Regions from separate parts of the Homo sapiens genome. Here regions 1, 2, 3, 4, 5 and 6 are each linked to region 7. The links are contacts of gene promoters, found by promoter capture Hi-C in blood cells and fetal thymus (Javierre and others, 2016). All regions are on one chromosome and are shown on one strand. Each heading gives the region's core, a stretch centred on a gene start or on the middle of the fragment in contact. The rest is flanking DNA. Distances are from core to core; before and after follow the strand shown.

Region 1 (3,410 bases), core at 703-3,202, 850 kb before region 7:
TCATATCAGACCAGCAGGCGGCACCATGGAGCACCTGCCCCAGGTTTTCCTGCAGTAGCAGAATTCTGCTGGTGTTGGATGGGTCTGGACACACCTCCTCTACCTTGTCCTCTCTTCCAGCTATGTCAGCTCTATCCTGAAGAGAACTTGGAGAAACTCATTCCTTGCTTAGCTGGTCCGGACGCATTTTATGTGGAGCGAAACCACGTGGATCTGGACTCAGGCCTGAGGTGAGGCCCTTACCAGGCACCCGGCGCGTCCACAGCTGGCAAGGACAGGCTGGTCCTGTGGTCAATGCTGTGGTCCTCCAAGGAGCTCTGGGAGGATGCGCGGTCACCTGGACCTGGGTCTCTACTTGGCCTCTAGGGATTTCCATTAGTTCTGGAGGATTCGGGAGCCCTCAGTAAGCTGAGAGTGGTTCTGAGTGTGTGAGGAAGGGAATTCCAGGGTGGGTCCCACCACGTCTTGGGCTTTGGCAGTCCTGTGAAATAATCCTGGGCTGCTGTTTCCATCCTGTAGTCCAAGGTTGAGACTATTCCCAGATAAAATTGGCGTCTCTTAAACAGTTTCTCTGGACCCTCGATCGTGTCTTGGCTCACGTGGCACACGAAGTAACATGGCCGACCAGTTCCGTAAATGTGCTGCTGCCGGGGCCCTGGGGACCAGTGTCCAAGCACCTTTCTGGCTGGTGGGTGGCACTGATCTCATGTCACAGGGCATGACTGCTGTCGTCAACCTTGGTGGCCATGAATACAGCATTGAGAGGAAGGGCTTGAAGAAGCAGTGGCAGTCGGGCAAGAACTCAGTTGAATTAAAGCAGGAAGAATATGAGGCTCTGGCACTTCTGGCTTTTTTCCTCTAATACACATTTCTCTTGATTAAAAGTTAAATTTTTTTCTTTCAATTCGTCAGCAGGAATGCCATTTTAATGTTGATAAGACCACTTGTTTGCCTTTTAGGTACCTGGCCTCATTACCTTCTCACGTGTTGAAAAATGACCATGTCAGGAGGTTTCTCAGCACTTCCTCTCCCCCACAGCAGCTTCAGAGTCCAAGTGAGTTTGTAAAATATGGTTAAATATAAATTAAAAAAAAAAAAAACAGCTGGGCGCAGTGGCTCATGCTTGTAATCCCAGCACTTTGGGAGGCTGAGGCGGGCGGATCACCTGAGGTTGGGAGTTCAAGACCAGCCTGACCAACATGGAAAAACCCTGTCTCTACTAAAAATACAAAATTAGGCTGGGCGCAGTGGCTCACGCCTATAATCCCAATACTTTGGGAGGCTGAGGCGGGTGGATCACGAGGTCAGGAGTTCAAGACCAGCCCGGCCAATATGGTGAAACCCCGTGTCTACTAAAAATACAAAAAAATTAGCCAGGCGTGGTGATGCATGCCTGCAGTCCCCGCTACTTGGGAGGCTGAGGCAGAAGAATCACTTGAACCCGGGAGGCGGTGGTTGCAGTGAGCCGAGATTGCACCACTGCACTCCAGCATGGTTGACAGAGCAAGTCTCCATCTCCAAAATAAAATAAAAATACAAAATTAGCCGGGCGTGGTGGCAGGCTCCTGTAATCCCAGCTACTCAGTAGGCTGAGGCAGGAGAATCACTTGAACCCGGGAGGCGGTGGTTGCAGTGAGCCGAGATTGCCCCACTGCACTCCAGCATGGTTGACAGAGCAAGACTCCATCTCCAAAATAAAATAAAAATATAAAATTAGCCGGGCGTGGTGGCAGTCGCCTGTAGTCCCAGCTACTCGGGAGGCTGAGGCAGGAGAATCACTTGAACCCGGGAGGCAGAGGTTGCAGTGAGCCGAGATCGCACCATTGCTCTCCAGCCTGGGCAACAAGAGCAAAACACCGTCTCAAAAAATAATAAAATAAAACAAATATTTTCATTGTCTGTAAATTTTTATGGTATTTATTTTTAAATTTATAGGTCCTGGCAATCCCTCCCTTTCTAAAGTAGGTACCGTGATGGGCGTGTCTGGAAGGTGAGAAATCTTCTATGTAACCAGCACAGTTCAGATAAGCATTTTACAATGTTTACTTTGAGTTCTGTGTAAAGTTGTTCCAAGAATTAAGTCATGCTCAAGTTGAGTCTTGGATGATATTGAGAAGAATTGAGTAGAGATGATTGAATTTACGATTTCCAAAAAAAGAGTTCTCTAAGCCACTGGAATCAGAATTCCCAGGGACTCCTCCCCAGTGCAAGGTCCTGGGCCCCATCATAGACGTAGAAAGTCAGAATTTCCGAGAATCTGGCTGTGAGAAACCTGCTCCCAGAAGCATAGGGTCGTGCTCCTGAGGAGCGTCCTCTGTCCGCACGGGCCCTGGGTAGCTGCAGTCGTATGCCGGCAACACAGAGGCTCCCATCTTTGCTGACAGTGAGGTGGGCTGTCACAGATCAGTGCACACGCACCCCCATAGGGAGTCTCGTGGAGATGTTGTCTGGGCGCGAGGTTTCGAGGCGTAGACTGGCATCCTCCTGGTGTCGGGGTAGGGTAAGCGCCCAGTCAGCAGGTGTGACTTTGCAGTTAAGGAGCAAGGCCAGAGTGGAGTGCCGGTCACACCTTCCAGCCTTCTGCGTTTTACTTTTCTAGAAAAATTGTATTTGAACATTAAAGATTTAATAGTCTATTTTGATGTATGATTTATCAGTGTCATTCTGTGACTTAGAAGTAACAGAAATACCTATCGGAGTAGCATGTTTTTAAAAAATACAAGTAACAGAAACTTGGCAGCTAAAGCAGAAGTCTGGTGGGGACAGAGACGTACACATACATAATACACATACGTACACACAAGTAGACGCATACTCCGAAGCACGGGCAGAGGCATGTGTGTGTATATGCACAGCCGCCTGTATGCACACGTGTGCACAGACATGCATTACAGAAATCTTAGCTGCAGAAAGGTGGTTGGGGAGGGAGGGCAGTCATAGCACAGCAGTGTTGGCAGTTCAGGGTGGCCTGTGACAACAGGGCCGGCCAAGAGGCAGAGGCTGGCACAGAAAGGCCTGGAAGTGAGGTCTGTGGTGGAGTCTGTGGTTGTGGAAGCCACAGTCTCTCTGTGTCCCTCCTGCCCCTGTCCCACAGGCCTGTGTGTGGAGTGGCTGGTATCCCGTCCTCGCAGAGCGGAGCCCAGCACCACGGGCAGCACCCGGCCGGCTCCGCCGCCCCCTTGCCTCACTGCTCCCATGCGGGCAGCGCGGGCTCAGCCCTGGCCTACCGGACCCAGATGGACACATCACCTGCCATCCTCATGCCTTCCAGTCTGCAGACCCCTCAGACCCAGGAGCAGAATGGGATTCTAGACTGGCTTAGGAAACTGCGTTTGCACAAGTATTACCCCGTCTTTAAGCAGCTCTCCATGGAGAAGGTATGTCGGTTTTCTGGCTGGCCGTACAGAATT
Region 2 (3,387 bases), core at 440-2,939, 560 kb before region 7:
ACGAGTGTGTTGTGTGTGTTATGTGTGCACTGCATGTGTGCGTGTGTTGTGTGTTGCGCGTGTTGTGTGTATGTGTTGTGTATGTGATGTGTGTTGCACGTGTGTGTTGTGTATGTGGTGTGTGCTGTTTGTGTGGTGTGTGTGTTGTGTATGTGGTGTGTGTGAGTGTGTGTTGTGTATGTGGTGTGTGTGAGTGTGTGTTGTGTATGTGGTGTGTTGTGTGCGTGTGTGTTGTGTATGTGATGTGTGCTGGGTTTGTGGTGTGTGTGTTGTGTATGTGGTGTGTTGCATGTGTGTGTCGTGTATGTGTTGTGTGTTGCGTGAGTGTGTGGTGTGCATGTGAGAAGCTGCTGCTCTCTCAGTGGGTCCTGGTGAGCTCAGCCCGCCTAGTGAGCATCTTTCTCAAGGAGGTGAGAGTCTCACCCCTGGAGAGGTGCATTTTTCTTGCGCCTTTTCTGGCCACTGCTTGTGCTTATGTGAGGAAGGAACGGTCTATCCCCACGTGATAGTGAGAACCAGCTGCTCTGGCTTGCTGGGAAGGTCCCAGGGCTTGGTTTGGGGCGTGATTTAATTGGCTTTCAATGGGTTTTGCCCCATGTGCTGACTAGCGACAGTAGCGATGCTGGTGAAATGAAACATCCCCATGGCATCTCATTCCACCTTCATGACAACTCTGTAAGGTGCATGGAAGTTTGCATCCTGGCTGTCTAACCGACAGGGAACCAGGGGCTTATGGGGCCAAGCAGCCTGAGATCACGCAGCAAGCCTGGCAGGCCTGGCTGGGACTCACACTCGCCAGGCTCTCAGGGCTGCTGCGGACGCTGCGACCTTGTCATTTACCAGTGAGTCACAAACCACTCAGACTTAGGGGATGGGAACAACAACATTCTTTCATTTTCTGCTCGTGAACCGTACTTTGGGCAGGGATCTGCAGGCACAGCTCATCTGTGTCTTGTGTGGTGTTAGCTGCGGGGGCTCCAAGCTTAGAGGTGAGTTGATGGTGGGGTTCTGGAATTTGCTGAAAGTGTGTTTACTCATATGTCTGGTGTTGAGGCTGCTTGTTAACTGGAACCTTCATTAGGGTCTCTCATCTGGAACCTTTGCACGCGGTCTGCCTCGTGGCTGCTTGGGCTTCCTCCCACCATGGAGGCAGAGTTCTAAGCACACAGGGTGGACACTGGTGGCATTTCTATGGTCTAGTGTTGGCAGTCATTTCTGCTGTACCTTACTGGTTGAGACAGTCACAAACTTCCTCTTGAACCTGGGCACGGGTTCCTCACCACTTGACTGGGGGAGCATCAGGGTCACATCCTAAAAACAGCATGCGGCCTGGGATATGTTGTGGTGGCCCTCTTTAGAAAATGCAAATGGCCACCAAAGCTACTGCCTGCCTCAGAAGCGTCCAGTGTCTCTGGGGGATGTTCAGGTCCACTGCAGTCTTCAGAAGCCTCCTGCTGGGACTCAAACCACCGCATGCTGCCTAGGAGCCTCTGTGTGCATCTCAGACCTCCTGGACCCTTTAAGCTGAAGATACTTAGTGGCACTCTTATTGATAATAATCTTTAAAATAATTTAAAATATAATTTATAATATATTTGTTCATTTATAAACATATATATTACACAATTATATTTATCATAAAGCTCCCATATCAATCATATATATCTGTAGAATTTTATATTTTATTTAGGTGACACATTTTATATATGATATTTTTATTAATTTTATGTAATCGTTATATAGAACAAATTATATAATGAATATAAGTATATTTGTATTTATTAAAATGTTTATTTATATGAAAAATTTTACATTAAGTATAACATTTACCACGTTAATTAGTGGTAATATATTGCCTCTAAAGAAGATTAGACATTATAATCATATTGGGGATCTCTGTCTAAGTATTGGTTGTTCAAAAGTAATTTCAGTGAGGACCATGCCTTTTCCAGGAGGAAGGATTTTCTAGGGACACATCTGGGGGTATTTCTGGGGAGTTTTAGTCAGAGCTATAGGTTGTTTTCAGCACAATGGGAAGAGTTACTGGCTGTGAAAAGGGAGCGGTCGGAAGATCTGCTGTCTAAGGCTCCTAGCTAGTGAGTTATCCCACATTAGAATGGTTAATGGGGTGGGGGTTATCCCACGTTAGAATGGTTAAGGCTGGGGAATCCCATAACAAACATAGAAATAAACAAACAAAACTCCACATAGGCTCATGGATTGCCTAAATGCAAATGGACCATTTGGTTTAATTTCTTTAAAAAGTCATGGGCACCCAGAGCTGGAAGGAAGCGTGGAGACCAGGTAATCCTGTGCATCTTAAATTGGGAGGCGCACAGCCCCAAGGGGAGACGGAACGGGCAGGGGGAGCCACAACGTAAACACGCTAAGCTTTGATTTTTCCTAGACGCCAAGTAATCTAAAACATTTCCAATACTCAAACAAACATGGGTATTCTTTGGAGTAAGATGTAAAATCTCCATAAGTTTTTAGGATAAAACAGAAGACTTCAAAGAAATTCCACCCTGGCAGCAGGCTGGCCTAAGCTAAGATCACAGATGCCTGGCTTCAGCCCCTCTGAGGTACCAGTCTGCTCTCTCTGCCCGGGAAGCTGCATGCTTGCTGGGAGGCCCTACCCCAGCTCTCTGCAACACTAGCTTCTTGAGCAAAAAGTGCCGGGAAAAAAGAAAGAAAAAAGATGAAATAGAGGGGCTGTTGCTTGTCTACCTCCACGAGGAGTTAGGGCCACAGCTTCCAATGTTGGGCTGATCTGAACTGAGATGTCCCTTAGGTGTGAGTACATGCTGGATTTTGAAGCTGTAGTATGAAAGAGTGAAAAAATCTCATTTATATTGATTACATAATGAAATGACAATATTGAAGGTACATTGGGCTAAACAAATAAATTCCTTGGTTTCTTCTTACTTTTTGTTTTGTTTTGTTTTGTTTTTTGAGAAGGAGTCTGGCTCTGTTGCCAGGCTGGAGTGCAGTGGCGCGATCTCGGCTCGCTGCAACCTCCGCCTCCCGGGTTCAAGTGATTCTCCTGCCTCAGCCTCCTGAGTAGCTAGGATTACAGGCGCCCGACACCACACCCAGCTGATTTTTGTATTTTTAGTAGAGACAGGGTTTCACCATGTTGGCCAGGATGGTCTCGATCTCTTGACCTTGTGATTTGCCCGCCTCGGCCTCCCAAAGTGCTGGGATTACAGGTGTGAGCCACCCCGCCTGGCCTCTCCTTACATTTTTAACACGTCTACTATAACATTTAAAATTATTTATGTGGCTCACATTGCATTTTTATTGGCTGCTTTGGGCTAGAACATATGGTGTTTCCTAATGTAAAGGATCATGCAACCCTGTCCTTCATATAGCATCCTGGGGGACCAG
Region 3 (3,417 bases), core at 162-2,661, 570 kb before region 7:
GCTTATTGGCTTTGTAAGACTTCCAGAGGGGTCTGAGATCCCCAGAAGGTTAACAGTGCCTGGATTGGAGAGAAATGCTTTTTTCCCTGAAGTCGCTGATAATTTATTTTTAATTTTTAATTTTTAAAAAACCCAGAGCCCCTTTGCAGAGCTCAACTGCCTCCTGCTTCTCACCGAAATCCTTTCTTGTTTTTCAGAGCAGAACGCAACCGGCGCCAGGGTCCCGGGGAGAGAGGCAGCAGGAAGTGAGGCTGAGGGGCTGTCTGTGTCGCGCAGGGAGCCGGGCAGGGCTGTTTTCCATGGCTGCCGGCCCTCTCCTTAGATGAGTACACAGCTGCTTTTCACAGCGCTCAGCCTGCCCTCCTGGAGGGATCATTTGAGGAGAAAATCCATCTCAACATCCACATGTTGTGTATCACTTGAACGCGGGGCAGGGCAAGGAAGACCAAAGCTCCCCCACTTTCAGGAGGCGACTCCTCCTTCTTTGCTGGACAGGGGCGAACAGGAACCACGTTGGCTCTGGAAGTTCACAGGGCAGTGGATCAGGGCTCAGGAGGAAGAAGATGGTGCAGCCGCAGGCACTTCTGAGTGACGAGAGGCAGGCATGCGTTGAAGGTGATCTGCAGGGCACTCACACACAGGGCTTGGCAAGGTCCCGCAGTCGTGGGGAACGTGGAAGTTCTGACCCAGGCCTTCTGTCACCGGTCCCAAGCCCACGTCGTTTCTGCGACAGCGTGACTGACCAGTAAGTCATCTGCTTACCAATGTCCCCCGAGCCAAGGACAGCGATGGAAAGCCGTGCGGTATCACTCCGGAAGAGGAAAGTCGGTGGCCTTTTAAGCAGGATGAAGTCAATCCTACAGGCCACATGGTTTGCCACGTGGCACATGCCTCCCCCTGTGACCTCATTCAATCCCTGCAGAGCCCCTGGCGGCCATCGTCGTACGGTTGGCACCAGCATGGACTCCAGAGCCCACCACCTGGCTTATGGCCCCAGCTCTGCCCTCATTAGCGGTGGAACCTGGCCAGCAACTTAAGCTCTCCATGCCTCCGTTTCTTCATCCATAAAATAAGAATAGCACTGGTACCCCTGCGCAGGGCTGCTGCGAGAATCAAGTGAGTTAGTATCTGCTTAGAGAAAGCCTGTTAACAGTGCATGCTTCCCATGGCTGTGGTAACAAAGTACTGCAAATTTAGTGGCTGAAAACAACACAAGTTTTGGAAGCTAGAAGTCCGACCTGCGTCTCACTGGGCTAGAATCAAGGTGTGGGCAGGGCTAGTTCCTCTGGAGGCTCCAGGGGAGAATCCCTTCCTTACCTTTTCCAGCTTCTAGAGGCCGCCTGCATTCCTTGGCTCATGGCCCCTCCTTCATCTTGAAGCAACATTGTATCTTTCTGACCTCAGCCTCTGTCATCACATCGTTCTCTGATTGTCTATTCAGCCTCCTTCTTCCATATTAAGGACCTTGTGATTGCATTTGACCCACCTGGATAACCCAGGGGAATCTCCCTATTTTAAGGTCAGCAGATTGGCAACCTCCATTCCATCTGCTACCTGAATTCCCCTCTGCCACAGAAGGTAACATAGTCACAGGTTCCAGGGGTTCGGGTGGGGCCATTCTTGGGGCAGCATTAAACCCCCAAGCTCGTGGATGTCTGGGGGCTAGCTGCCACATGTTACAGCCATTTTGCCTGAAATATTTTCTGTTTTAGTGGTGCCTTCTGGAGGTTCCCTTTAAACATGGAAAACTTCAGGAAGTGAAACGCATTCATTCATTTTCCAAACATTGTGCCTCAGGGAGCCGTGCTAGGCTCTGGGGATGCAGTGGTGGGCAAAACACAGTCCCTGCCCTCATGGGATTTGACATGAGTGTAGAGACAGGGGATTAGAAAGGAAATAAATGAAAACTGAATGATCGATTGTGACGTGTGCTTTTGTGGAAACAGGGTGCCTCGCTGGAACTTAACGTGAGGGGAGCCAGTGTGGTCTGTGGAGGCTCCTTTGAGCAGGTGACATCTGAGCTGCCCTCTGAAGATAACAAGGATCCAGACATGACGGGGAGAAGGAGACGCTGCAGGCAGAGGACAAAGGTGCTAGATGGACCCAAAGGTGGGAATGGGCTTGGGTGAGAAAAGGCACGTGCAGCTGGAGTGCAGGGCATGGGGGTCCTGGGGGAGGTGGACAGGGGTCAGAGTTAGAGGTCGGGGTCAGGGGCCCAGATCACAAAGCACCCGGCCTTGTGCTTGGAAATGGGGGTGAGTTTGCATTTAATTCTGAATTTTGAGACCGGGCGTGGCATAATTGAAATGCTATGTTCTATGTGTTCACACATCGGTGGAGTGGGAGGGTGCGGCCCTGAGTTTCTGAGATTCTTAGCTTGTCTCAGCATCAAACCCTGCCTAGAATTGGAAGGTGGCAGCTGGGTGCGGCGTTCTCAATGGTACCATTCTACATAAGAGCCACCTAGTTATCCATTCCCTACTTCCTGCGATTGACTGTGCCTGAGGTTGCCACTGCCCTGCCTGTGCCCTGGGCACTCTCACGCTCAGCTTGTGATGGTCTGAATGTTTCTATCTCCCTAGATTCCTGTGTTGGAAACTAAGACCCCATATGATAGTATTTGGAGGTGGGGACTTTAGAGGGTGATTAGGCCGTGGTGGCCCCTCCCTTGTTAATGGGATCTGTGCCTTATAAAAGGCTCTGGAGAAATAGCCACATCCTTTGCCCTTCTGTCTCCTCTGTCAGTTAAGGACGCAGTACTCCTCCCCTCTGAAGGGCACAGCAACAAGGCGCCACCGTGGAAGCAGGGTCCAGGCCCTCACCTGACATGAAGCCTGCCAGGACCTTGATCTTGGACATCCCAGCCTCCAGAGCAGGGTAAGTTCTGCTTCTTATAAATTACCCAGTCTCAGATATTTTGGACTAAGACACAGTGCATGCTGGTGACCTTGTGTAAGTACCAAAAATGTCCCAATTGGCAGTTCCTGTCCCCACCTGATAGCTCCTCTCAGCCCACACATGGGCAGACCAGGGGTGCTAGGGGGTCCTCAGCAGCCATGGATGGGAGTTGGAAGATAAATACCCCCAATTCCTCACCTTTTGGGTGGGATATGCTGAGAAGTGTTCTATACCATCTCCTGAGGTTCCCAGCAGGGTTGAGCTGGTCAAAGGTCAAGTTGTTAAGAATTTCCAGATGGCAATGGCTGAGTGTTAAGCCAAGCCCGAGGCTCTCTGAGGCAATGTCCTGTGTGGCTGCACAGGGTGTGCTGAGGCCCCACCGTCTTTTCTTATAATAATTCAGCTTCTTTATTAACCTTATTTTATTTTTAAAAAATCGTTCTTAGCTTAAGCTAGCTCAAGTCGGTTTTATGTTACATACAACTAAAGAAGCTTTGACCAGGCAGGTGTGAGAAGACT
Region 4 (3,076 bases), core at 437-2,936, 530 kb before region 7:
GAGTGAGCGTTTCTGGGCTGAGAGTCCATATCTTTCAGAAGAATTTGAAAAGGCCCCAGGATCCCTTCAAAAGTTAATAACAGCTGACAGTTTCCCAGTGCCTTTTGCTGATGGCTGATTGGATGGGGGCCATATTTTAGGTGCCCTGACTGCCTCTTCTAGAGGTGGCGTGGGGGTGTCTGGAGGATGGAGTGAAGGTGGTCAGCTATGGGAGTGGGGGTGGGGGGTGGGAGAGAGCAGGGCTTTTGAAGATGCTTCTGTATTTGAGTCCTAGTATTTCACTTTGTGGAAATTGCTTAATCTCTCTGAGCCTCCATTTCCTTATCTATAAGATGGGATCTAGGAAAATGCACTTCCTAGCTCATACAATAGCTGGGGGGAAGGGAGGGTGTTCAGTAATACAATGTACAAATGAGATAGCTATACAATGTATATATATGAAAACTACTTCCTAGATCGTAGGGTAGCTGGGGGGTTCAGTGATACAATGTACATATGAAATAGGTATACAATGTATATATATGTGAAAACTACTTCCTAGGTCCTAGGTAGCTGGGGGTTTCAGTGATACAATGTATATCTGAACATATATACAATGTATAGCTTGGATTTAATGATACAATGTACGTATGAATACATAGGTACAATGTGTATGTATATACAATTATGACTGAAGCATAACAGTTCCTTTTCAGTGCAACTTTCTCTCGCTATGGTTATGACAGCTGTCATAGTAGTTGCCATTGATTGAGGACTTACTATGTCTTAGTTACTCTCCCAAACCTTTTTCCATGTCTTATTCCACTTAATCTGTCTAGGAAACCTTTGTGGTTGCTCCTGTAACACTGAAAGGCTCCGAGAGGATAGATAACTTGTCTAAGGTCACACAGCTAGTGAGTGGCAGAGCTGAGACTTGAATTCAAGTCTATCTGACTTGAAAGTTTGTGGCACCAGCTACCAGGGTGGAGTTGCATTCACTGTATGCCATGCTCCCTGCTTGAGCCCCAAGGGAAGTGGTGAGGGCAAGTGTTGGCGCATCTGCCAGATCTACCTTAAACACCCCCTGCCCCAAGTACAGGCATGTGCAAAGTGCCTGAGAGCCCAGCCATTTTGGTGGATGTGGGCCAGGTCAGCAGAGACTGTGCAATCTGTTCTGACTGTTAAGGTGGAGGTAACGCTAGGCTGAACCCCAGAGGACTCCCGAGGCTCTGGAGCAGGTGAGGAAGGGGGATGTCTGGAGCCACCCCCAAGGCCTGTGGCTCTCCCTGGCAGAGTTTTGCTGAGGCATATGATGCATACAAAATGCTCTGTGTACACTTGTGTAGGAAAAATCACCACCTCTGCAGAGGCTTGTTTACTAGGAGGGGAGGCGCATTCACAAATGAATAAACAAAAACAAGACCCCAGTCACTAATAAACATGGACCGCTGCACTGCAGGGTTCCCCTCTTCCTGCTGGGCCACCTCTGCCCGTCAATGGGTCTTGCAGCCCCGCCTGCCCCCCGTCGTGGTGTGTGAGCCCTGCAGGGTCAGAAACGCTAGGCTGAGTCTCCACCACCTACTCCACCACCTAATGGTTGAGTAACTTGGCTTTTAGCTCTGCAAGCCTGAGAGTCCTCACCTAAGTGTGACATGGGGCTAATCCTTCCCTTAACAACACCCATTTAGCACACTGCTGTGACCATGCAGTGAAATCGAGGACATTGTAAGAGGTTGCCACATGATGAGTATCTCCTTAATAAATGCTTTTCCTTCTAAGTGCTAAATAAATCTGAAAGAATAAATACACGTGAACTCGGAAAGGAAAGTTCTCTAGTCTCTCTGTGATTGGAACACACCATGTCTCTGGGCTCCCTTCACTGTGCTCTAGCGTGAGCGCTCTCTGCATGCTGGAATTGGAATTCACCCTTCTTGCCGTCCTGCTTGTCCTCCACAATGCACCCCTTTAGGCTCTCAAATGCAATCATTGCTGTGTTCTAGAACGGTGGTTCTCAAACTGGCTTCTTCCTTTGCAGTGTGCAGCATTCGGTGGCAGCCAGGGGTCATCTCAGAGAGAATGGGGGTTGGGGAGGTGGGCTGCAGACATGCTCTGGAGCCTGTGTGTGGTGGATTCCTTTCCTGGCATTGTGTTTATTCAACATGAGCCATGTTGCAAGGAATGGATTTCTACTAATTGTTCAAGCACCCACAGCTGCACATGTTTTGCTCTTAAAAATCTAAGAGTAGGTTCAGGCTTCTCCAGTTGTCTTTCCTACCCACCTCCCAGTGTGCTTTCTTGCCTGGGGCCAGTGCTTAGGACCTAGACATCTTAGGGGCCATTATTCAGGTGCCCGCAAATGGTAAAGAACACAGCGCTAGGAAAAGGTGAGAGCTTTACTACCCAAGCTACCTCCTTCTCCTGCTGTGCTTCCCATGGCACGGATCCATGACTGGCAGCTGAAGGGAAGGGGACCCGCTATCACTGCGCTGTGCTGGAGAGAAGGTTGGGGAGCAGCGCTGGAAGAGCAAATGCAAAAAACAGGTGTGAGGACATGAAAAGCTCCCAGCAAATGCTGTTTGTAGCCCTGGAGGGAGGGGGCAGTGACCATCAGGAAAACAAAAGGCTTCAGTAGCAGAGGTCACTCCTTGGCCCATTAATCCTTTGTGCTGGGGATTTTACAAGCTGTCAGCCCTCCTCCTTTGGGTCTGAGGGAGGGGTTGAACTCCCCCATTAGCTTTATGATGGCAGTTTTTCCTCCAGACACTACAGGGAGGTAATGCTTTGAGGATTTCTTGAGTTTGTCCCTTCTTACCAGTTAATAACATACTTGAAATGCTTGTTACCATGTGGGATGGGGACACAGCCTAACCAAGGCCCTTTCTAATCTGGGTCCTGCTTAATTTATGAATGCCCTCAGCATGTAACTCTGAATACCGGCCACATGGAATCATTTGCAATTTTCCTGAGCAATCCACACCCAGGCCTTTGCACAGGCGGTTCCTTCTGCCCGGAGCACGCACCTGACTGGTTCCTACTCATGCTTCAGAACCCAGCTCAAATATGGAGCTGGGGTTGGAATCTAGACCTGTCTCCACCT
Region 5 (3,289 bases), core at 354-2,853, 680 kb before region 7:
TAATATCTGAGAGGTAGTTTTTCGATCCTCTCCCTCCTCTCACCCTCTACCCTCACATAGGCCCCAGTATCTATTGATCCCTTCTTTTTGTCCATACATACTCAATATTTATCTCCTACTTATAAGTGAGAACATGTGGTATTTGATTTTCTGTTCCTGTGTTAGTTTGCTTAGGATAATGGCCTCCAGCTCCATCCATGTTGCTGCAAAGGACATGATCTTGTTCTTTATTATGGCTGCACAGTATTCCATGGTGTGTATATACCACATTTTCTTTATCCAGTCTACTGCTGATGGACACTTAGATTGATTCTGTGACTTTGCTATTGTGAATAATGCTGTGATGAACACACGTGTGCATACGTCCTTCCTGTAGAATGATTTATATTCCTTTGGGTATATACCCCATTATGGGATTGCTGGGTTGGATGGTAGTTCTGCCTTAAGTTCTTTGAGAAATTGCTGCACTTCTTTCCACAGTGGCGGAACTATACGGCCCCACCAGCAGTGTGTGAGCATTCCCTTTTCTCCCAACCTCAAGAGATCCACCCACCTCGGCCTCCCAGAGTGCTGGGATTACAGGCGTGAGCCACCATGCCCGGCCGACAGGTTCCTGTTTAACAGAGTTGCTGGTCCACCCTGGCCAGCTGAACTAGAAGGTCACTAATTTGTCTGTAGTGACTCGGCTTGTGTTGCTCACAAAGCCTCGGCTCCCCTTTTCTCAGGGACAGTTTCTGGCATGTTGTCTAAACCTTCCTGGTGTCTCTCTTGAGTTTTGGCTTGCCATTGCTCATCTGTGGAGTTACCAGTGGGATGGTGGGTGACTGTCGTAAATGATGTATTCATTTACTGAAATTTGATTGTGTCTGCCGGGTGCTCGGTTCAGTGGTGGGGCAGGCAATGCAGGGGTGAGTGCAGTCAACGTGGCTCCTTACTCCGAGTGCCCAATCTCGTGGATGAATCTCAGCAAAGCCTCAGTTGCTCCATTTGCAGAAAGGGCATGGGGTTATTTCCTCGCCTCTCTCCCAAACAAAACCTCTGAAAACACACTGGAAGCCCAAACATTTCAGCCTCCTCATTACCAAAATAATTTTAGGTGTGTTACCAGTTACAAATAGTGCAACCCAAATTAAGTGGCAAGAAATGTATTGGAATAGATGAAATTGTGGGAGGGATTTTGTTTTTCACTTTTACTTTTGAAATGACTATAGCTTCATAGGAAATTACAAAAATAGTACGAAGGATCTCCCGAGCCCTCCCTGCAGCTCTCCCCAGTGGGGGTGTCTTATGTAACTGCTGCAAAATAGCAGCCCCAGGAAATTGACATTGGGACAATACTAGACTCCAGACCTTGTTCAGATTCCACTGGTTTTTACACGCATATGTGTGTGTGTGTGTGTGTGTGTGTGTGTTGCTGTGCTCTTGGTCTCTTGTATAGATCTGTGTAACCACTACCACCATCAGGATACAGGATAATTTAATCACCAGAAAGGAGCTTGCTGGGGCTACACAGGGGAGATTAAAAAAACTGACAAATAGGCTGGGCACGGTGGCTCACGCCTGTAATCCCAGCACTTTGGGAGGCTGAGGCAGGCGGATCACAAGGTCAGGTGTTTGAGACCAGCCTGGCCAACATAGTGAAACCCTGTCTCTATTAAAAATACAAAAAATTAGCCGGACGTGGTGGTGGGCACCTTTAATCCCAGCTACGCGGGAGGCTGAGGCAGGAGAATGGCTTGAACCTGGGAGGCGGAGGTGGCAGTGAGCCAAGATCACGCCATTGCACTCCAGCCCGGGCGACAGTGCGAGACTCTGTCTCAAAAAACAAACAAACAAAAAAACCCCAAAAAACAAAAAAACCGACAAATACAATTTACATATATTTATGGTGGAAAACATGTTTTGAAATTTGTGTACATGGCGAAATGGCTAAATCAAGCTAAGTAACATATATTACCTCACATACTCATTTTTTTTTTTTTTTGGTGAGAACACAATCTACTCTTGTAGCAATTTTCATGTATATGATACATTGTTGTTAACTATAGTTACCATGTTACTTACAATAGCTCTCTTGAACTTATTCTTTCTCTCTTTTTTTTTTTTCTTTTTGAGACAGAGTCTCACTCTGTCGCCCAGGCTGGAGTGCAGTGGCGCGATCTCGGCTCACTGCAAGCTCCACCTCCCAGGTTCACGCCATTCTTCTGCCTCAGCCTCCCGAGTAGCTGGGACTACAGGCGCCTGCCACCATGCCGGGCTAATTTTTTGTATTTTTAGTAGAGATGGGGTTTCACCGTGGTCTCGATCTCCTGACTTTGTGATCTGCCTGCCTCGGCCTCCCAAAGTGCTGGGATTACAGGCGTGAGCCACCGCGCCCGACCTTGAACTTATTCTTTCTATGTAACTGAAATTTTGTATCTTTGACCAAGATTTTCCCAATCTCTTTCCCCCAACCCCAGCCCCTGGTAACCACCATTCCACTCTGTACTTCTATGAGTTCAACTTTTTCAGATTCCACAGATAAGCGAGATCATGCAGAACTTGTCTTTCTATGCAATATTATGTTTATATTTTACTTAACGTAATGACCTCCAGGTTTATTGATGTTGTTGCAAATGATAGCCTGAATAGTATTCTATTGTGTATATACAACCCTACTTTTTCTTTGTCTATCCATCCATGATGAGCACTTAGGTTGATCCTGTATCTTGGCTATTATGAATAGTGTTGCAATAGACATGAGATTGCGGATGTCTCTTCAACATGCCAATTTCATTTCTTTTGGATGTATTCCCTGTGGTAGGATTCCTGGATCATATGATGGTTCTATTTTTAATTGTTTGAGGAATGTCCACACTGTTTTCCGTAGTGGCTATACTAATTTACATTCCCACCAACAGTGTATGAGGGTTCTAAGGGGGGGAGAATTTTGAATGTTAAAAAACGTTACGTGATTAGAAAATGTTTATTATCAGAGAAAGACATCTGATACATGACCTCTGCCAGTCAGAAATGGGGGTGATCTCTTTTTAGTTGTCTGCCAATTGTTGTTGCTTCCTTACTTTAATAACTGTCGTGCTTTTCTTCTAGGGACTTTCTTTAGAAACCTCTTCTCCATGGCTCCTTTCATTTTATTTTCCTAAAATGTCTACTTGCATGTTGACTTGTATATCCATCCCACCTTTCCTGGGCTTGTTTTCAGCAGGTTAGGGCTGAGGGCTTTGTTTCCTCATATCCTCCATGACGGCTAGGACTCTTGGTTGTTCAATAAATGCTTCAGTGAGTCTGT
Region 6 (3,482 bases), core at 512-3,011, 760 kb before region 7:
GGAATCATGATCAAGTCCAGTGTTAACGTGGCCCAACCTGTCTGTACTTCTGGGGAGAGACCAGGAACATCACTGGACTCCTCATCCCCGTAATTATTTAGAGAAGATGCAAGCAGCAGATAGTCTCCATGCGGCTGGTACTTTTTTTGTTGTTTTTTGAGACAGGGTCTTGCTCTGTCACCTGGGCTGGAGTGCAGAGCGGCGATCATGGCTCCCTGAGGCCTCAACCTACTAGGCTCAAGCTGTCTGCCCGCCTTAGCCTCCCAAGTAGCTGGGACCACAGGCACCCACCACCACCATGCTTGGCTAACTTGTTTTTGTAGAGATGGAGTTTTGCCATGTTGCTCAGGTTGGTCTCGAACTCCCGATCTCAGGTGATCCACCCGCCTCGGCCTCCCAAAGTGCTGGGATTACAGGCGTGAGCCCCTGCGCCCCAGCCTTGGGGCCTGTCTTTGAATGGGAATGAGACTGTGCAAACCGTGGACTACCCTGTGTCACCCACAGCTCAGTGGCCTGCCTGCCGGCCCTCAGGGGCTGCTGACCGGGAGACCAGCCAGAGCACGAGGGGGTCAGGGCTGTGTGGGTTTTGGCCTGATTCTGCATTTGGTTGTTTCTGGGGGCCATGTAGCCTGCCTGCATTAGGAAAGCGCTGTGCCATCTGATCATGAGCACCTCTGCACCCCCTGGTAAGGTGACCTTGCAGCAGGAGCTGTGCCCTGCCTGGGTAGGCACCCACTAGGTAGGACCGGAGCAATCCTGGCAGCCGCCACCTGCACCCGTGCACTTGTTTCTCCTCACAGTTTCAAGTAAATCCGTTTTTGAAGGCTTGTTGTGTGTTTTGTGATTTCTTTGGGAATATGAGTTGGACGGAGGCGAGAGCCTTAAGCCATGCGAGCTGTCGGCCTGGGAACCCAGACTTCCCAGCTTCTTGAGGAAGTGTCAGATTTCCCGCGTTGACAGAAGGGAGCATTGAAGGGATGCCTTGGAGCCCAGACAGTGGTTGTCCCTGTGTCCTTCCCTTTGACCTGGCATCAGAGGTGTCTCGAGTCCCTACCCAGGGACCCAGAGGAGTTCGGGCCCCAGTAGATTTTCTTAGATTTAAGCCAAAGTGAGTTGCATTATCTGCAACGAGGACAGATATGGGAGGGAATGTGCTGAGAGCCAGGCAGATGAACTGAGGATCTCATTGATCTTTCTTTTGTGTTTACTAAACTCATATGTTCTTGTAAACAGTTCTTTAGCATAGACAGTGAAAGTACCCCCTGTTCTCATCCCAGCCTCCCCGTGAGTCACTGCTGCTAATTAATGCTGTTAGCTTGGAATTGTAGAAACAGGATGTTTTCCATGGTAATGCACTCAAAGTACACCCTCGATTGGCAGAAATTGGCAAGTGTGATTTTCCAAGTGTTGGCAGTGATGCAGGGGAACAGGAACGCAGGTGGGGCAGCTGTTTTGGGGACAGCTGGTACTAGCTCATGGCACTAAGGACACGGGCCCAGGGACTGGCATCTGCATCCTGAGGTGTCCACCCTCGGGCAACGCGAGAGCCCAGGCATGGGCCACGCAGGGATGTTCATTGCTACACTGTGACAACTGTCACAGGCCGGAAGGAGGCAGGTGGACTACGGTGGAGCCACCCATGCTGTCACCTGGCAGACGGGCACACAGCCTTGTTCCGTTGCAAAACAAGTGAGAGATGGTATTGGTGTAACATGTAAAAATGCAAATACTTAATTTTTATCAATTCATGTGTGGGGAAAAGCTGAAGATACGCGTGGGAATGGTGTGGTCACTTCTAGGGGTGTCGGAGGGTAGAACTTCAACTGTTTTGCTTTAAAAAGTAAGGATCGCATGGCAGAACTAGCATCTGTTCACCTGTTGATCCTGATACCGTGGATTACGAGACCCCCCCTCTTTTCTGTGTGGTTCAGAAACAAGCCCCTCAGACAGGACACAGTGCCCAGGGGCAGTGACCTGCAGGCCCACCCACTGCCATCTCCGCTGGTCTCGGGGTTGCCACATAGCCTGCCAGCTGCGGCTGCTTCCTGGGTGCCCTCCAGGGAGAGCAGGGGATCGTGGGTCCCCGGCGGTGGGTGTTTCCTTCTCCGGGGAGAGCAGGGGATCGTGGGTCCCCGGTGGTGGGTGTTTCCTTCTCTAAGGTTTGCTGCTGTTTCCAGGCCTTTCTGTGGGGCCTGGGTCCTGTCCTGGGGCCAAGCCACGGGGTCATCCTCAGCTGCACTGGGCGTGCCAACCACAAACGAGTCACTTGCTACAAGCAGCACCATGCAGCCTCCTGTCTGGACGAGACCCTGCCCCCCACAGACTGGAGACGCACCCCGATTTCCCAGGTCACAGGGGGAAGTGTGGATCTGATAAGGGACTAAATGTGGCGTCTTTCATATGTTTCTCTTACATATTTTATTTTAAAATGAAAAAAAAAATAAGGTCATGGGGAACGAGTAGAAGGCTGCTTCCTGCTGCAGTTCCCCTCTTGCTCCAAGAGTGGGGATGGCCCAGCTGGGGGGACCTGCTCCGGGCCTGGGTGCCGCAGCCTCACCTAGACACAAGGGCACAGGCTTTGTTCTCCAGGGATCTGTCCGACACCAGCATCCCCCCGGGGGCTCAGACCCTGCACTTTTCTGTCTGCTGCTGGGGTTGAGGGGACAGCAGATGGGCAGCGAGGGCTGGTGGCTGCCCAGGCTGGCCATGCCCAACACCAGCAGGTGAGGCGGAGGCCGAGAGGGTGTTGTGGCCGGGTCACCTGGGCCCATATGGAGCTCACTCCTCCCTGTGGGGGCCGCTTGGCTGTGCTGCCGGAGGCATGGCGCTTTCCCCACCCGATGGATGGCGGGGCTTCATCCTTCCTCCCCTTGCAGGAGGCACGGTGCCCAGGGTCCTCCGTTTGTCCCCCCTCCTTAGGGGAGGTCCCCTTTTGTGGTGTGACCTCTAGTGGGCATGTAGGGTCACTGCAGAGGGCTTGCCCCCAGCCAGCAATGTGAAACAAAATGCCATTTGGATAGTTTCCAAACCTACCCCGGCCCCCTCCCCATTTTGACTTGAAAATCCCCAAGTGACAGAAGGCACAATGCGTGTCCTTCCTATCTTTGCCTCCGTCCCTCTTCTTCCTGAGGGGTGCGATCCCTGGCGCCTTCCCTTCTTCCTTGTGTGCCGGCGTGGGCCCTCCCTGCCGTCCCTGAAGCCCACCTGCACTGCCTCTGAGCCGCGGAGGTCCTGGAAGCAAGGTGGAAAGGTGCTGGAGGGCCAGGGGGAGGCGCCCCTGCAGCGCTGTCCCTCCCCAGCAAACAAGCAGCTGGGCTCTGCTGGGTGTTCTCCATGGCACCGTGTTTGGCAGACATTAACCACGGAACAACCAGGAGTGCTGGTGTGGCTGGGATCAGCCCACTCCACAGGAGAGGAAGCAGCAGCTCAGAGAGGCTGAGTAATTTGCCCAGGGTCACACAGCCAGGGAGTATTAGCCCAGG
Region 7 (3,488 bases), core at 126-2,625:
CCGGGCTCAGCTCTCCGCCCGGCGGCGACGTTCGCAGGGTCATGATGTTCTCCACGCTGAAGCCAGGCAGCCCGTTGGGCGCCGCGGCGTGGTGCTCCGGCAGCGAGCCGTCGGGGGAGCCGGCGGGCGTGGAGGCCGCGCTGCGCGGGCTGCCCTGCAGCGCGCTCTCGGGGCTCAGCGTCTCCACCTTGGTGATGACCGGCAGCGCCGGGGACGCCGCCTCGCTCTTGATCACCACCTTCTTCTCGGCCTCCTTGGGGGCGTCCGCTAGGTGGGGGGTGGCCGGGGCGCCCTTGGACGCCGCCGGGGGCGGCTCCTTGAGGTGGGCCCGCTCCTCCTTCTCCTTGGACACGTCCTTCTTTTTGAAGCGCCGCCGGCGCCGCAGGAAGCTGCCGTTCTCGAACATGTTGTAGGAGTCCGGGTCCAGGGTCCAGTAACTGCCCTTGCCGGGCTTCTTGTCGTCGCGGGGCACCTTGACGAAGCACTCGTTGAGCGAGAGGTTGTGGCGGATGCTGTTCTGCCAGCCCTGCTTGTTCTCCCGGTAGAAGGGGAAGCGGTCCATGATGAACTGGTAGATGCCGTTCAAGGTGATCTTCTTCTCGGGCGCGTTCTGGATGGCCATGGTGATGAGCGCGATGTAGCTGTAGGGCGGCTTCACCAGGTCCTTAGGCGCCGCGGGCTGGTGGTGGTGGTAGGGCGCGTAGGAGCGGCCCATCCCCGCGCTGTACTGCTCCGGGTGGCCGGAATAGACGCCCATGGGGCTGGCCATGCCGCCGTAGCTGCCCGCAGCCCGGTAGTAATTCTGCTCGCTCAGGTAGGGCACCACTCCCAGGGCGTTGGGGTCGGACACGGAGTAGCGCGCCTGCATGCTGCTTCCGAGACGGCTCGCCGGCGCCCTCGCGCACGGACTGCGGCCGGGGGAGCGAGGGGGGCCCTGAGAGCGAGAGAGCGCGAGAGAGCCAGAGGGGGAGAGGAGGGGAGCGGGAGGGGCGGCCCCGGGCTCCTGGCAGCCTCCGGGGCGAGGGTGCGCGGGCGGCGGCGCTCGGGCCGAGCAGGGGCGCGCGCTTTCAGCGGACCGGGCGGATCGGCATCCTGGAGGGCGCGCCCCGGGCAAGCGCAGCGCCGGCCCCGCTCCTCGCTGGCTCCAGGACCCGGCGGCGGCAGCGCGGGCAGGCGGGCGGCCGCGGACCCAGCGGAGACGCCGCGGCCTGGGGACCCAGGTGGACCCTCGGCCCGCGCGAGGAGGGGCGCAGGAGGCTCTCCAAGCCCCCAGCGAATCGGCAGCCCCGAGGGTCAGCGCGCCGGGGTCCGAGCGGCTGCCCCGCTGAGCCCAGAAAAAGAGGCCAAGTCCCTTTTAGGGATTGGGAAAAGTTTCAAAAGTCTTCTTGCTGAAAGCGAGTTTTTACTTTCCTCGGGCCACGCCCCCTCCCGGAACTTTGAGCCAATCACCCGGCAGCTGAGAGGAGTCGGCGCCAATCGGGGCGAGGAGCGCAGGAATCCGTCGGCTCTAAGACCCCGCCGCCCCGGCCTCCGCGGCGACTCCGTCTTCACTTGAAAACTTTTTAAAAAGTTATATCTTATTAAAATTTATTTTATGATCACATTTTGGTGAATGGGCCCACATGCCCAAAACAAAAAGATAGCCACTTTCCTCTGTTAAAAAAAATCAATTTGAAATATAAAATAGAATGGATTAATAGAGTAAAATATCTCTCCCAAAGACCTTGTAAGTAGCAATGATCCTGGGACATTTTTCTTATTAATGAGTGATGAAGCGAATAATTAGATTTCCTAATTATGGGGGCCCAGGTGTAATGGATTCAAAGCAAACGCGCTGGATTGGAATGGCAGGGCCTCTCCTGGATGTTATACTTATTTAATCAAATAATTAATCATCAACAGGGAGTTTCCAGGCTCGGGGTCGTCAAGGATAACCTATCGAGGTTTTAGAGGTAAACCCTACAAACTGAGTTTCCCTCGCTCCCCGCCGAGGAGCCAGGCAGCGGAGTGCATAGAGGGGAAGGTAGCAACGTGCTGACTGACAACTTAATCCTCCGAATTCGCGGGGAATTCGGTAGATCATCCGCGTCGCTGCGAGCAGTTTTGTGGGGTTTGGGGAAAAGGGTGAAGTGACTCTGCTATTTCCCCCTTTCGTCTCCCGCGTGGACACTCGCAGCCTACCAACTTCAGCTTCGAAACTCGTCTCCCTTTTCCCAGGTAGAAATTCCCTCTAACAAGCTGACCCCGCACTCCCAGAAGACCGGGACAATGCAGCGACCCACCCGGGCCAGGCAGAGCCGAGTTCCTGGGCCCTGCGAGGAGAAACCCGAGCCTGTTTTCCGCGGGGGCTTGGCTCGAAGGCGCGCGCAATGAGCGCCGCGCACCGCGGGCACCAAGCGTGGACGTTTCCCGTGGCCCAGGCCGGCGCCGGCCGCTAACACCGACCCTAGGGCGCTGTCCCTGCCTCCTGCTCCTGGCAACGTCCCCCTGGGAGCCTCCAAGTTGCTTTTCTATATTTCAGCCTTTTTTTTGTTTTGTTGGGTGGGTAGGGTGAGTTAGGGAGCGCGCTCCGTGGGAAGACTGGGTGAGCGGTTGATTGCAAACGGTTCAAGATCCCTTCGGGATGATATTATTCGGCAGGCAGACCTGGAGCGACTTGGATCTCCTTCAAGGATTTCTCCTTCCCTCTAGGAATCCCGGACAGTTTGTTTATTTGTGGACTGATTATTTATTCCTTCCACACCTCAATAATCAGATCCCCTTTTCCCACTTTCCCTGAAGGAGTGAGACACCCCTTTAACAAGGCTAAACACGGGCAGAATTTTGGAAGTTGCTGGTCTGGTTGGGCAGGGAAGAGGGCTTCAGGGAGAACATTTGTATTTCAGGTTTCCTTGCACCCTTCCTGGCTGTTCATCGGCTGCGTATTCGATTCTCAGCAAAAGGATGTTGAGACAACCCACCAGGCCTCTTCGCTTCGGCCTCTTCGCTTCGGGGAGGCGACTAGAAGGCAATGGGGCGTGCCACTTATTTCCAATAAAAGAACAGAAGACGAAAATGTAGATGCATTATCTTTGTCTCCTGATCAATTCAAAGCCAAAGGGAAGCTACAAATCAGGTTCCTTTACCTTGAATATTCCACTTCTGAAACATTGTTTTTATGAGTATTCTGGGCTCTTTTTCTAACCTGATCCTTTTTCTTCTTTCTTTGAAACAAAGTAAAATAAAGCTGCCCAGTTCTCAGCTCACAGGCAAATGATTTGAGCTTTCTGCCCCAACCCTAAACTCCCACCATGACTTTATTATTTTTAATAAGCTAGTATTTCCGCATCTAGCTTAAAAAAAAAAAAGGACTAGCAAAAAGTGCCCTTCTCCTGCAGCGCATGACAGGCACACTGAGTTCGTGTCACGATTTTACTGGAAATGCAAACTATTGATCAAGAAACACTCCTCAGCCTGTAGGCTTCCTGGAGGAATATTATTTACTCTGC

What was found. The method cuts DNA at HindIII sites, captures the fragments that hold promoters and counts their contacts. A CHiCAGO score of 5 or more calls a contact.
Region 1: a contact is called between a fragment that was not itself captured here and the fragment with the promoter of FOXC2 in region 7, in 1 of 17 cell types (M2 macrophages). The highest score is 6.9, in M2 macrophages.
Region 2: a contact is called between a fragment that was not itself captured here and the fragment with the promoter of FOXC2 in region 7, in 4 of 17 cell types (M2 macrophages, endothelial precursors, M1 macrophages and 1 more). The highest score is 6.0, in M2 macrophages.
Region 3: a contact is called between a fragment that was not itself captured here and the fragment with the promoter of FOXC2 in region 7, in 5 of 17 cell types (megakaryocytes, M0 macrophages, M1 macrophages and 2 more). The highest score is 8.9, in megakaryocytes.
Region 4: a fragment that was not itself captured here is called in contact with the fragment with the promoter of FOXC2 in region 7 in 6 of 17 cell types (M2 macrophages, M1 macrophages, M0 macrophages and 3 more); the score reaches 10.9 in M2 macrophages.
Region 5: a contact is called between a fragment that was not itself captured here and the fragment with the promoter of FOXC2 in region 7, in 3 of 17 cell types (M2 macrophages, megakaryocytes and endothelial precursors). The highest score is 6.8, in M2 macrophages.
Region 6: a fragment that was not itself captured here is called in contact with the fragment with the promoter of FOXC2 in region 7 in 1 of 17 cell types (monocytes); the score reaches 5.4 in monocytes.

What each region holds. Positions count from the first base shown.
Region 1 is chr16:87,417,427-87,420,836 of GRCh38, reverse strand. It overlaps ZCCHC14 (zinc finger CCHC-type containing 14), which reads left to right. Exons shown (of 13, transcript NM_015144.3): 5 at 121-230; 6 at 960-1,054; 7 at 1,936-1,990; 8 at 3,095-3,377. Among named protein-coding and RNA genes, the nearest start is that of MAP1LC3B, 27 kb to the right of the region's middle. The HindIII fragment of the contact is 4,091 bases long and covers 1-3,410 here.
Region 2 is chr16:87,121,236-87,124,622 of GRCh38, reverse strand. No RefSeq gene overlaps it. Among named protein-coding and RNA genes, the nearest start is that of LINC02181, 65 kb to the right of the region's middle. The HindIII fragment of the contact is 1,409 bases long and covers 985-2,393 here.
Region 3 is chr16:87,137,884-87,141,300 of GRCh38, reverse strand. No RefSeq gene overlaps it. Among named protein-coding and RNA genes, the nearest start is that of LINC02181, 82 kb to the right of the region's middle. RefSeq lists an enhancer at 1-1,161. The HindIII fragment of the contact is 3,962 bases long and covers 1-3,392 here.
Region 4 is chr16:87,098,991-87,102,066 of GRCh38, reverse strand. No RefSeq gene overlaps it. Among named protein-coding and RNA genes, the nearest start is that of LINC02181, 43 kb to the right of the region's middle. RefSeq lists an enhancer at 2,349-3,064. The HindIII fragment of the contact is 4,577 bases long and covers 1-3,076 here.
Region 5 is chr16:87,246,878-87,250,166 of GRCh38, reverse strand. No RefSeq gene overlaps it. Among named protein-coding and RNA genes, the nearest start is that of C16orf95, 69 kb to the left of the region's middle. The HindIII fragment of the contact is 5,714 bases long and covers 1-3,289 here.
Region 6 is chr16:87,324,332-87,327,813 of GRCh38, reverse strand. FBXO31 (F-box protein 31) reads left to right here. Exons shown (of 9, transcript NM_024735.5): 9 at 1-827. Among named protein-coding and RNA genes, the nearest start is that of C16orf95-DT, 8.6 kb to the right of the region's middle. The HindIII fragment of the contact is 7,131 bases long and covers 1-3,482 here.
Region 7 is chr16:86,564,716-86,568,203 of GRCh38, reverse strand. It overlaps FOXC2 (forkhead box C2), which reads right to left and starts at 1,375. Exons shown (of 1, transcript NM_005251.3): 1 at 1-1,375. The coding sequence starts at 868. It overlaps FOXC2-AS1 (FOXC2 antisense RNA 1), which reads left to right and starts at 443. Exons shown (of 2, transcript NR_125795.1): 1 at 443-587; 2 at 2,886-3,059. RefSeq lists enhancers at 72-655, 656-1,240. The HindIII fragment of the contact is 11,287 bases long and covers 1-3,488 here.